Regions from separate parts of the Homo sapiens genome. Here region 2 is linked to region 1. Evidence: promoter capture Hi-C in human tissues and cell types (Jung and others, 2019). All regions are on one chromosome and are shown on one strand. The core of a region is centred on a gene start or on the middle of the fragment in contact, and the rest is flanking DNA. Distances in the headings are between cores, read along the strand shown. Region 1 holds the start of TRAF3 (TNF receptor associated factor 3). Region 2 overlaps CDC42BPB (CDC42 binding protein kinase beta).

Evidence for each region. Contacts are between HindIII fragments. The study calls those that stand out against the background at their distance.
Region 2: a contact is called between a fragment that was not itself captured here and the fragment with the promoter of TRAF3 in region 1, in 1 of the 25 tissues and cell types used here (small bowel).

The regions. Positions count from the first base shown.
Region 1 is chr14:102,774,904-102,779,456 of GRCh38, reverse strand. TRAF3 (TNF receptor associated factor 3) reads right to left here and starts at 2,008. Exons shown (of 12, transcript NM_145725.3): 1 at 1,782-2,008. RefSeq lists silencers at 1,166-1,225, 1,466-1,515, 1,726-2,335, 2,426-2,485 and an enhancer at 3,196-3,435. The HindIII fragment of the contact is 12,756 bases long and covers 1-4,553 here.
Region 2 is chr14:103,035,254-103,039,618 of GRCh38, reverse strand. The region is part of intron 1 of CDC42BPB (CDC42 binding protein kinase beta); the gene reads left to right. Among named protein-coding and RNA genes, the nearest start is that of CDC42BPB, 20 kb to the left of the region's middle. The HindIII fragment of the contact is 7,768 bases long and covers 1-4,365 here.

The DNA.
Region 1 (4,553 bases), core at 759-3,258:
CAGAAACAACTGGCCACTGTTACTGCCTGTTTCCAGTGAAATGTCTTTACAGCCTCTCACTGAGTGAAGCCATCTTATTAATTCCAAAAGAAGGGACAGCATCCAAGGAAAATAATTGGTCTTCTTTCCCCTCGCAGAGAAATTCACATGAATGTCTCAAAAAAAAAAAAAAAAAAAAAAAAAAAAAGCTGGAATTCTCCCTGGCCAGCTCTCTCTCCTTTCCTGGCTTCTGCATTGACAGCTGGAACAGATGGCGTCTGGGTGAGACACCTTACATCTTAACCCTTATCCATGATAAGGTCTGATTTTCACCAGCGATGCTGGAATCCAAGGTCTGTCAGGGTTTCCGTCATGAGCACCCACTCACAGGATTTCCAGTCCCATGTGATGTTTTCCAGTTTTCATATCGATAAGGCTTATCTTGTTTTGGCCAAAGAATTTTCATCTTTAGACTAATTCTTAACATTTACATTGTCACAACGCGGCGAAAAGGTACACATTTCCTCTCATTTGAGAAAAGAACGCTGTACACTATTTTGCCAGACATCCTACATATGATGCAGTCTGTTCACAGGCCATTTTCAAAGACGTGAGAGACATGAGAAGATCTCAGGACGAACTGATGGTCCACTTGGCCATTCCCTACAGTAAGAATTTTATAGACAAATACAGGGTAACAGCAAACAACATTTCCAAACGCTCCGGCAGTGTGTAGTCGCAGCAAATGCTAGGAAAAAAAATAAATAATGGCTCCTCTTCAGTTGTATGCCGTGAATGTAAATTAAGAAGCCGCTACAACGCTCGACATAACCTTTCTGACGCCACAAAAATGAATGAATTATATCCATACACACACACAGGCACACACACCACGCACCACGCATCACATGTCATTCTGAAAACTGATTCTGAGCTTAATTCGAAAAACGTGAAATACAACTGGTCCCGTCAACAGCTCGTAATCTGAAGGTTTCTTGCATTTCCAAGCACGTCCATAACACCTCATCCGTTTCCAGTTTGTTACTGTTTCCAACCGAAGGGAGAGAATTTTCCACACAGAATTATCTCCTCGGGTCCAAATACTAGACCGAAGTCCCCACACGGGGCTGGCTGGCGGCGTGGAACCGGCCAGCCCGCCGAGAGCCGCCTGGCGCCCGCGGGGAAGACGCAGAGCCCGCGGCCAGGAGCCGCCCGGTGCCCCGGGAGTCGCCGGCCCTCGGCGGCCGCGCGAGGGGGATTCGCGCCCTCTGCCCATACCCGGACCCCCGCGCCGCCCGCCAAGCGGTCGGAGGCGCCTCTGAGGCGGAATGACTCAGGACCAACTTTCCAATAACGCCCGGGCCCCCCCGGCCGGCCCGGGCAGCGCGCTCGGCCACGCAGCCCCTGAGCCGCCCGTCCCCCCGCGTGAAACCCGCGGCCCCGCGGGGTGCCGGGTCCTCAACGCCAGCGGGGGTCACGGCCGTAGCGAGGCCTGCGCGCCCCGTTTCCTGAAAAGGTGCGGGCGCCCCGGCCCCCTCGGGCCCCGAGCCCGGCCTCCGGGACAAAGTTTGCCGAAGTTGAGGCGTCCGGAGGCGGGAGGCAGCCCGGCTGGGGCGCGGGGCCAGGCTGAAGCCGCGCCCCGCCGTCGCCGCTGGGACGGGCCGGGCCTGCGCCGCGCCGGGCCCGCGCCGGGCAGCCCCGAGGCCCCCGGGCCCCGCCGCCCAGGGCGCGGGATGGAGGCGACGGGGATGGAGGCGCCCGGCCGCGCGCCGGAGGCCCGCCCGCCCGCCGCGGCCCCTTACCTCGCGGTCCGTCGCCGCTCGGCCGGCTCAGGGGCGCCGGGCGCGTCCTCCGCCGCGGTCCGCAGCGTTCTGCTCCCCGGGCTGCCCCATGGCGGGGGGCGGGGAAGAGCCGGCGGCCGCCGCGGCTGCCGCCGGCTGGAAAGTCCCGGCTGGGCTGCAACCCCGGCTCGCGCACGCGGCGGCCGCGCCGCGCTCCCTCGCTCCCTCGCTCCCTCACGCAGCCCCGCGCAGGCACTTCCTCTCGCGCGCTGGAAATCCCCGGCGCGCCCGCCGCCCCGCCCCCGCCGCCCGCGCGCGTGGGAGCGGCAGGAGCCCGCGAGCGCCGCCGGCCCCACGCGCCCGCCGGCCCCCCGCGCGCGCCCGCGACCCGTTGCTAAGGGCCCTAGCGCCCGGCGGCCGCCCGCCCGGCCTTAGCAACGGCGGCGCCGCGGCGCGGGGCGGGGACGGCCCCGGGCGCCCCCCGCCTCCCTCCCGTCCCCGCCGCGCGCCCCGCGGGCCTCCTCGCTCTGCGCCGCCCCCGCCGCGCCCCCGCCGCCGCGCGTCCCCGCGTCCCCGCCTTTCCGGGTCAAAAAGCCACGCAGGCCGCGTGGGGGCCGAGAGGTGCTGGCGCCGCTCCTCCCCGCGGCCACCTCGCCCGCACCCCCCACGCCAGCATAGCATACGCAGCCCCCGTGCGTGCACGCCCGTGTGCCCATGGCCACACGCGACCCCTACGCACACGCACGGGTCCGATATGCGGCCCCCCGCACTGTCGCGGACGCATACACGACGGTCACATTCCCCTCAAGCGGACACGCACACACACGCTCACCAACACCGTGCGCACGCGTACCAGGCCACGCACCCTCGCGCACACGCAGGTGGGGCTGAGGGTGACTCAGGCCGTGGAGCCCCTTTTCGCATGCAGAGGGCAGGGCTCCACATTAGTTTGGTGGCACTTTCCTTTCTCCCTCCCTTGGACCCTCCCACGCCCCCGGAGTGGTGTCTTGCTCACGGGTGGACAGGGTAGCCAGTTTGCCACGTGCCCCCAGCGTCCTCGGCGGTCCTGGCTGCCCCTGCGCCCCCTGCACCCTCCACCAGGCCGCTGGGGCCTGCGCATTTCTCCCGAGGCCTCTGCCTTCTGCCCCAAAGGCATCAGTGGTGTGTCAGTGATTCACCTAGGCCCACCAAGGCAGCACCCAGCCTGGCTGGGCCTGGCGAGGTGGGAAGCGAAGGGAGGGCTTCTGGGAGGCTCTGGGCCAGCTGAGGGGTGAGGCCTTCGCTGGAGTTTGCAAGTCAGTGGTGAGGGGACAGAAAGGACTTTGCATTTTTCACTTCTCAAGAAGGCTTATAAAGAGCCCTACCCCAGAGCTGAGACCAGTGTGAGTAGCCAAGGCCAGTCTGCCTTCTTGTATTGCTCCAGTGACTCATGTGAGTGGAGGCAGGAAGTCCAGCATCTCCTCCTACAGCTTCACCCATGGAACGTTCCAGAACCCCAGATAGTCCGACCTGGCTGCTGGAAGTCTATCTGGACATCAGAGACATTGGACCATGTCTCTGGCTCCATTAGCCCAACAGATGCTTGTTCTACAGCCACACTCACCAGGCCACAGTGGCACCCCCGTCTGCGCCACAGGCACAGCTCTTTTAGAGGTGACAGGCCCGCCTTCGCCGTCCCTCACAGGGACCTATGGACTCCAGCGGTCTCCCCCACCCCCATGGTGGACTCCCCTTGGGAGCCTCAGGTGCCCTTTCTTGCCTGTCAGGAGTTGGGATGTTACTGACCTCAGGCTCAGGGTCCCAACCACTTCCCATAGCCCAGGCACTGAGGCCTCCCATGTCCCCAGCCCTGCTTAGCCCACAGTCCTGGCACCCTGTCGACTGGGGCCCACTCCCAACGCCTGCCTTATGCTGTGTGTTACCTATGGCCTGGTTTAACTTTGCCAAAATCAGGAAAGACTCCCTTTCCTAGGCTGGACTATTTTTGGTTGTTTTAAAAGAAGCAGGACATGGACCGGGCATGGTGGCTCACACCTGTAATTGCAGCACTTTGGGAGGCCGCGGGCAGGCAAGTCACCTGAGGTCAGGAGTTCGAGACCAGCCTGGCCAACATGGTGAAACCACGTCTCTACTAAAAACACAAAAATCAGCCGGGCGTGGTGGAGTGTGCCTGTAATCCCAGCTACCCAGGAGGTTGAGGCAAGAGAATCACTTGAACCCAGGAGGCGGAGGTTACAGTGAGCTGAGATTGTGCCATTGTACTCCTATCTGGGCGACAGAGTGAGACTCTGTCTGGAAAAAAAAAAAAAAAGTAGGATGGTGGCTTATGCCTGTGGTCCCAGCACTTTGGGAGGCTGAGGCGGGAGGATCGCTTGAGTCCATGAGGTTGAAGCTGCTGTGAGCCATGATGGCACCACTGGACTCCAGTCTGGGCAACAGAGCGAGACCCTGTCTCAAAAAAATAAAAATAAATAAATAATTAAAGAAAAGAAAAGAAGAAGCAAGGCAGAAGGTCCAAAGACCCATGAGAGGGTTTTCTGCGGCTCTTTTCATGCTCCAGCCTAGCATTAGAAAGCAACATTGAGAATGAAGTCAGGCACAACCAGGCTGAGCCCTCTGCTGGTGAGACCTATTCCCTCCCTTTCTCTCCCTCCCCTCCTCCTCCTTTTTCTTCTCCAATTGAGCAGTTCTGAAGATCCTCTGCTGTGGGGAATTGAAGGGGGACAGGACAAAGAAGTTTGCCCCAAGCAGGGCAACTGCTTTGGGGGTTGGTGGCGGGTGTTCTCGCCCCTG
Region 2 (4,365 bases), core at 301-2,800, 260 kb before region 1:
GGAAGTTTCCTTCTATTTCTAGTTTGTTAAGTTTTTGATGTGAAAGGGTGTTGGATTTTGTCGTGATTTTTCTGCATCCATTGAGATAGTTGTGTGGCTCGTTTTCTTCTGTTGATATGGTGTATTGCATTAATTGGTTTTTGTTTGTTGAACCAACCTCACATTCCTGGGATGAATCCCACTTGATCATGGTATATAATTCTTTCTCTGTGTTTGTGAATTTCGTTTGCTAGTATTGTATTTTGTTAAAGATTTTGGCATCTATTCATAAAGGTAATTGATTCTAGTTTTCTTTCCTTGTATGTCTTTTTTTTTTTTTTTTTTTTGGTTTGGTATCAAGATAATACTGGCCTTATAGAATGATTTAGGAAGTGTTCTCCTTTTTCTGGAAGAGTGTGAAGAATTGGTAATAACTCTTATTTAAATGTTTGGTAGATGCACCTGTGAAGCTGTCCAGGCCTGGATAGCTTTCTTGGTATTTTTTTGATTACTAGTTCAATCTTTGTGCCTGTTGTAGATCTATTAACATTTTCTCTTTCTTCAAGAGTCAATTTTGGTAGTTTGTGTCTTTTTATAAATTCGTCCATTTCACCTAGATTATCTAATTTGTTGGCATACAGTTGTTCATAGTTTTTCTTAATAATCTTCTTTACTTCTGTTAATGTCAGTAGTGTCCCTTCTTTTATTTCCATCCTAGCAATTTGAGTTGCTGCTGTTTTTTTTCTTGGTCAATCTCAAAAAACGGTTAAAATTGTACATTTTATGTTACGTATATTTTACCATAATAAAAGGTAATTGTAGCCTGTAATCCCAGTACTTTGGGAGGCTGAGGTGGGCGAATCACTTGAGTCCAGGAGTTCGAGACCAGCTTGGGCAACATAATGAGACCCGCCCCCCCCCCCCGTCTCTACAAAAAATAGAAAAATTAGCTGGGCATGGTGGTGCTCACCTGTAGTCTCAGCTACTCGGGAGGCTGAGGTGGGAGGATTGCTTGAACCCAGGAGGTGGAGTTTGCAGTAAGCCGAGCTCATGCTGCTGCACTCCAGCCTGGGAACAGAGTGATACTGTGTCTCAAAAAATAAAAAGTAATTGTAAGTAAGAGTAACTGAGATCCATCCACATGATTGGGTATAGCTGCAGCTTAGTTCCTTGTGGTTATTGTGTAGTGTCCACTGTATTCACAACCCTCTCTTTGTCCACTCCTGATGGACATCTGGGTTGCCCGCTTTGGGGCTATTAAGGAGTGCTGAAGTTGTTTTGGTTTTTTTTTTTTTTTTGAGACAGAGTCTCGCTCGCTCTGTTGTCCAGGCTGGAGTGCAGTGGTGTGATCTCGGCTCACTGCAAGCTCCGCCTCCTCCCAGGTTCACGCTATTCTCCTGCCTCAGCCTCCCGAGTAGCTGGGACTACAGGCATGTGCCACCATGCCCAGCTAATTTTTGTATTTTTAGTAGAGACGGGGTTTCGCCATGTTGACCAGGATGGTCTTGATCTCTCGACCTCGTGATCCACCCACCTCGGCCTCCCAAAGTGCTGGGATTACAGGCATGAGCCACCGCACCCAGCCAGTTTTTAAAATTCTTTTTTTTTTTTGAGACGGAGTCTTGCTCTGTTGCCCAGGCTGGAGGGCAGTGGCATGATCTCGGCTCACTGCAAGCTCCGTCTCCCGGGTTCACACCATTCTCCTGCCTCAGCCTCCCAAGTAGCTGGGACTATAGGCGCCCGCCACCACGCCCAGCTAATTTTTTGCATTTTTAGTAGAGACGCGTTTCACTGTGTTAGCCAGGATGGTCTCGATCTCCTGACCTTGTGATCCACCTGCCTCGGCCTCCCAAAGTGCTGGGATTACAGGTGTGAGCCACCACGCCCGGCCTAAAATTCTTTAAAAACTCCTCTCCACATATCTCTTGAGCCACCTCCCTTAGCTTTGGGCTTTACAAAGCCCTTAGCTTTGGGCCCGTCCTTGGAGGGCAGTTGTAGGTAAGCTGAGCTGCGGTTTTCTGTGATTTGGGATTGCCCCTCATACCATGTATTGAAAGTATCAGAATACCAATCACAAAAGGTACATTTGGCAAGTACTATTTTTATTTTAATTTTTTTTAATTATGAAAATAAGCCTGAGCGACATAGCAAGGCCCCGATTCTACAAATTATACAAAAATTAGCTGGGCATGGTGGTGCACACCTGTAATCCCGGCTGCTCGGGAGGCTGAGATGGGAGGATTGCTTGAGCCTGGGGAGGTCGAAGCTGCAGTCAGCTATGATTGTGCCACTGTACTCCAGCCTGGGTGACACAGTGAGACGCTGTCAAAAAGAAAAAGAAAAGCGTGCTCATGATAAAATAAATTTAAGCAGTACAAGAAGTAGGTATGCCACGAAAAGTGAAAGTCTCCTTCCCCCGAGTTTATTATAATTGTCTTTCTTGCTTTTTTATTTTAAAGCATGTTCTAGTCTTTTTCCATTAAAATTGAATGTTAATTTGAAAGATTGTTTTAAACATTAAAAGCTGATTTTGATAAGTCTAAAAGTCTGAGATGGCCAGACGTGGTGGCTCACGCCTATAAGAGGTGGGCAGATATACCTGAGTCCAGCCTGGGCAGCATAGCGAAACCCTGTCTCTACAAAAAAAAACACAAAAATTAGCTGGACGTGGTGGTGTGGGCCTGTGTCCTAGCTACTCAGGAGGCTGAGGCAGGAGAATTGCTTGAGCCTGGGAGGTCGAGGCTGCAGTGAACCATGATTGTGCCACTGTACTGCAGCCTGGGCGACAGAGCCAGACATTATCTCAGTAAATAAATAAAATAAAAAGTCACGACTTTTAATGAGAAATTAATGTTGAAATATGGTTATTGCATGTATCAGAACTGTGATTTTAGTTTGGCTATTTTTTATTGTCTGTATTGATATACATGCTATAGAATCATATGTGCATTCCCAGAATAAAACATGCTTAGCTGTGGCATTTTATTCTCTAACTGCACAGTTGAGCCTATCGTATTCATTTTTTTTATTATTTTTTTAAATCTGTATTTCCAAATGAGGAGTAGTCTGTAGATAGTCTGTGGTTTTAACTTTTGTATGTTATCTTTGGAATATTTTGGCGTCAGAATTACTGTAGTTTTAGGAAAAATTAAGAAGCTTTCAGTCTTGTGTTTAAGAATATTTTAGGCTGGGCGCGGTGGCTCACGCCTATAATCCCAGCACTTTGGGAGGCCGAGGCAGGTGGATCACGAGGTCAGGAGATCGAGACCATCCTGGCTAACATGGTGAAACCCCGTCTCTACTAAAAATACAAAAAAAAATTAGCCGGGCGTGGTGGCGGGTGCCTGTAGTCCCAGCTACTCGGGAGGCTGAGACAGGAGAATGGTGTGAACCCAGGAGGGGGAGCTTGCAGTGAGCTGAGATCGCGCCACTGCAGTCCAGCCTGGGCGACAGAGCGAGACTCCCACTCAAAAAAAAAAAAAAAAAGAATATTTTATTTTATTTTTATTTTTTGAGACAGAAGTACAGTGGCATGATCATGGCTCACTGCAGCCTTGACCTCCTGGGCTCAGGTGATCCTTCCACCTCAGCATCCCCAGTAGCTGGTACTACAGGTGCGTGCCACCACACTTGGCTAATTTTTGTATTTTTGTACAGATGAGGTTTCGTCATGTTGCCCAGGTTGGTTTCGAACTCCTGAGCTAAAGCGATCCTCCTGCCTTGGCCTTCCAAAGTGCTGGTGTATTACAGGTGTGAGCCACTGTGCCCGGCCTTATTTTTTTTTATTTTTTATTTTTTTTGAGACAGAGTCTTGCTCTGTCACCCAGGCTGGAATGCAGTGGCGTGATCTCCGCTCACTGCAAGCTCCGCCTCCCGGGTTCATGCCATTCTCCTGCCTCAGCCTCCTGAGCAGCTGGGACTACAGGCGCCCGCCACCACATCCAGCTAGTTTTTTGTATTTTTAGAAGAGATGGGGTTTCACCATGTTAGCCAGGATGGTCTCAATCTCCTGACCTCGTGATCCACCCACCTTGGCCTCCCAAAGTGCTGGGATTACCGGCATGAGCCACCGCACCTGGCTGCCTGGCCTTGTTTTTAGTATTTTGTAGAGTTGAAGTCTTACTATGTTGCCCAGGCTGGTCTCCAATTCCTGGGCTCAAGTGATCCTCCTGCCTGGCAGGCCTCCCAAAGTGCTGGAATTATAGGTGTAAACCACCACACCTGACCCCTGAAAAATATTTTAGAGAGTGAAATTTTAAAGTATGCATTTATAAAACCACTTGAGCTGGGCGCGGTGGCTCACACCTGTAATCCCAGCATTTTGGGAGGCCGAGGCAGGCGGATCACCTGAGATTAGGAGTTTGAGACCAGCCTGACCGACAAGGA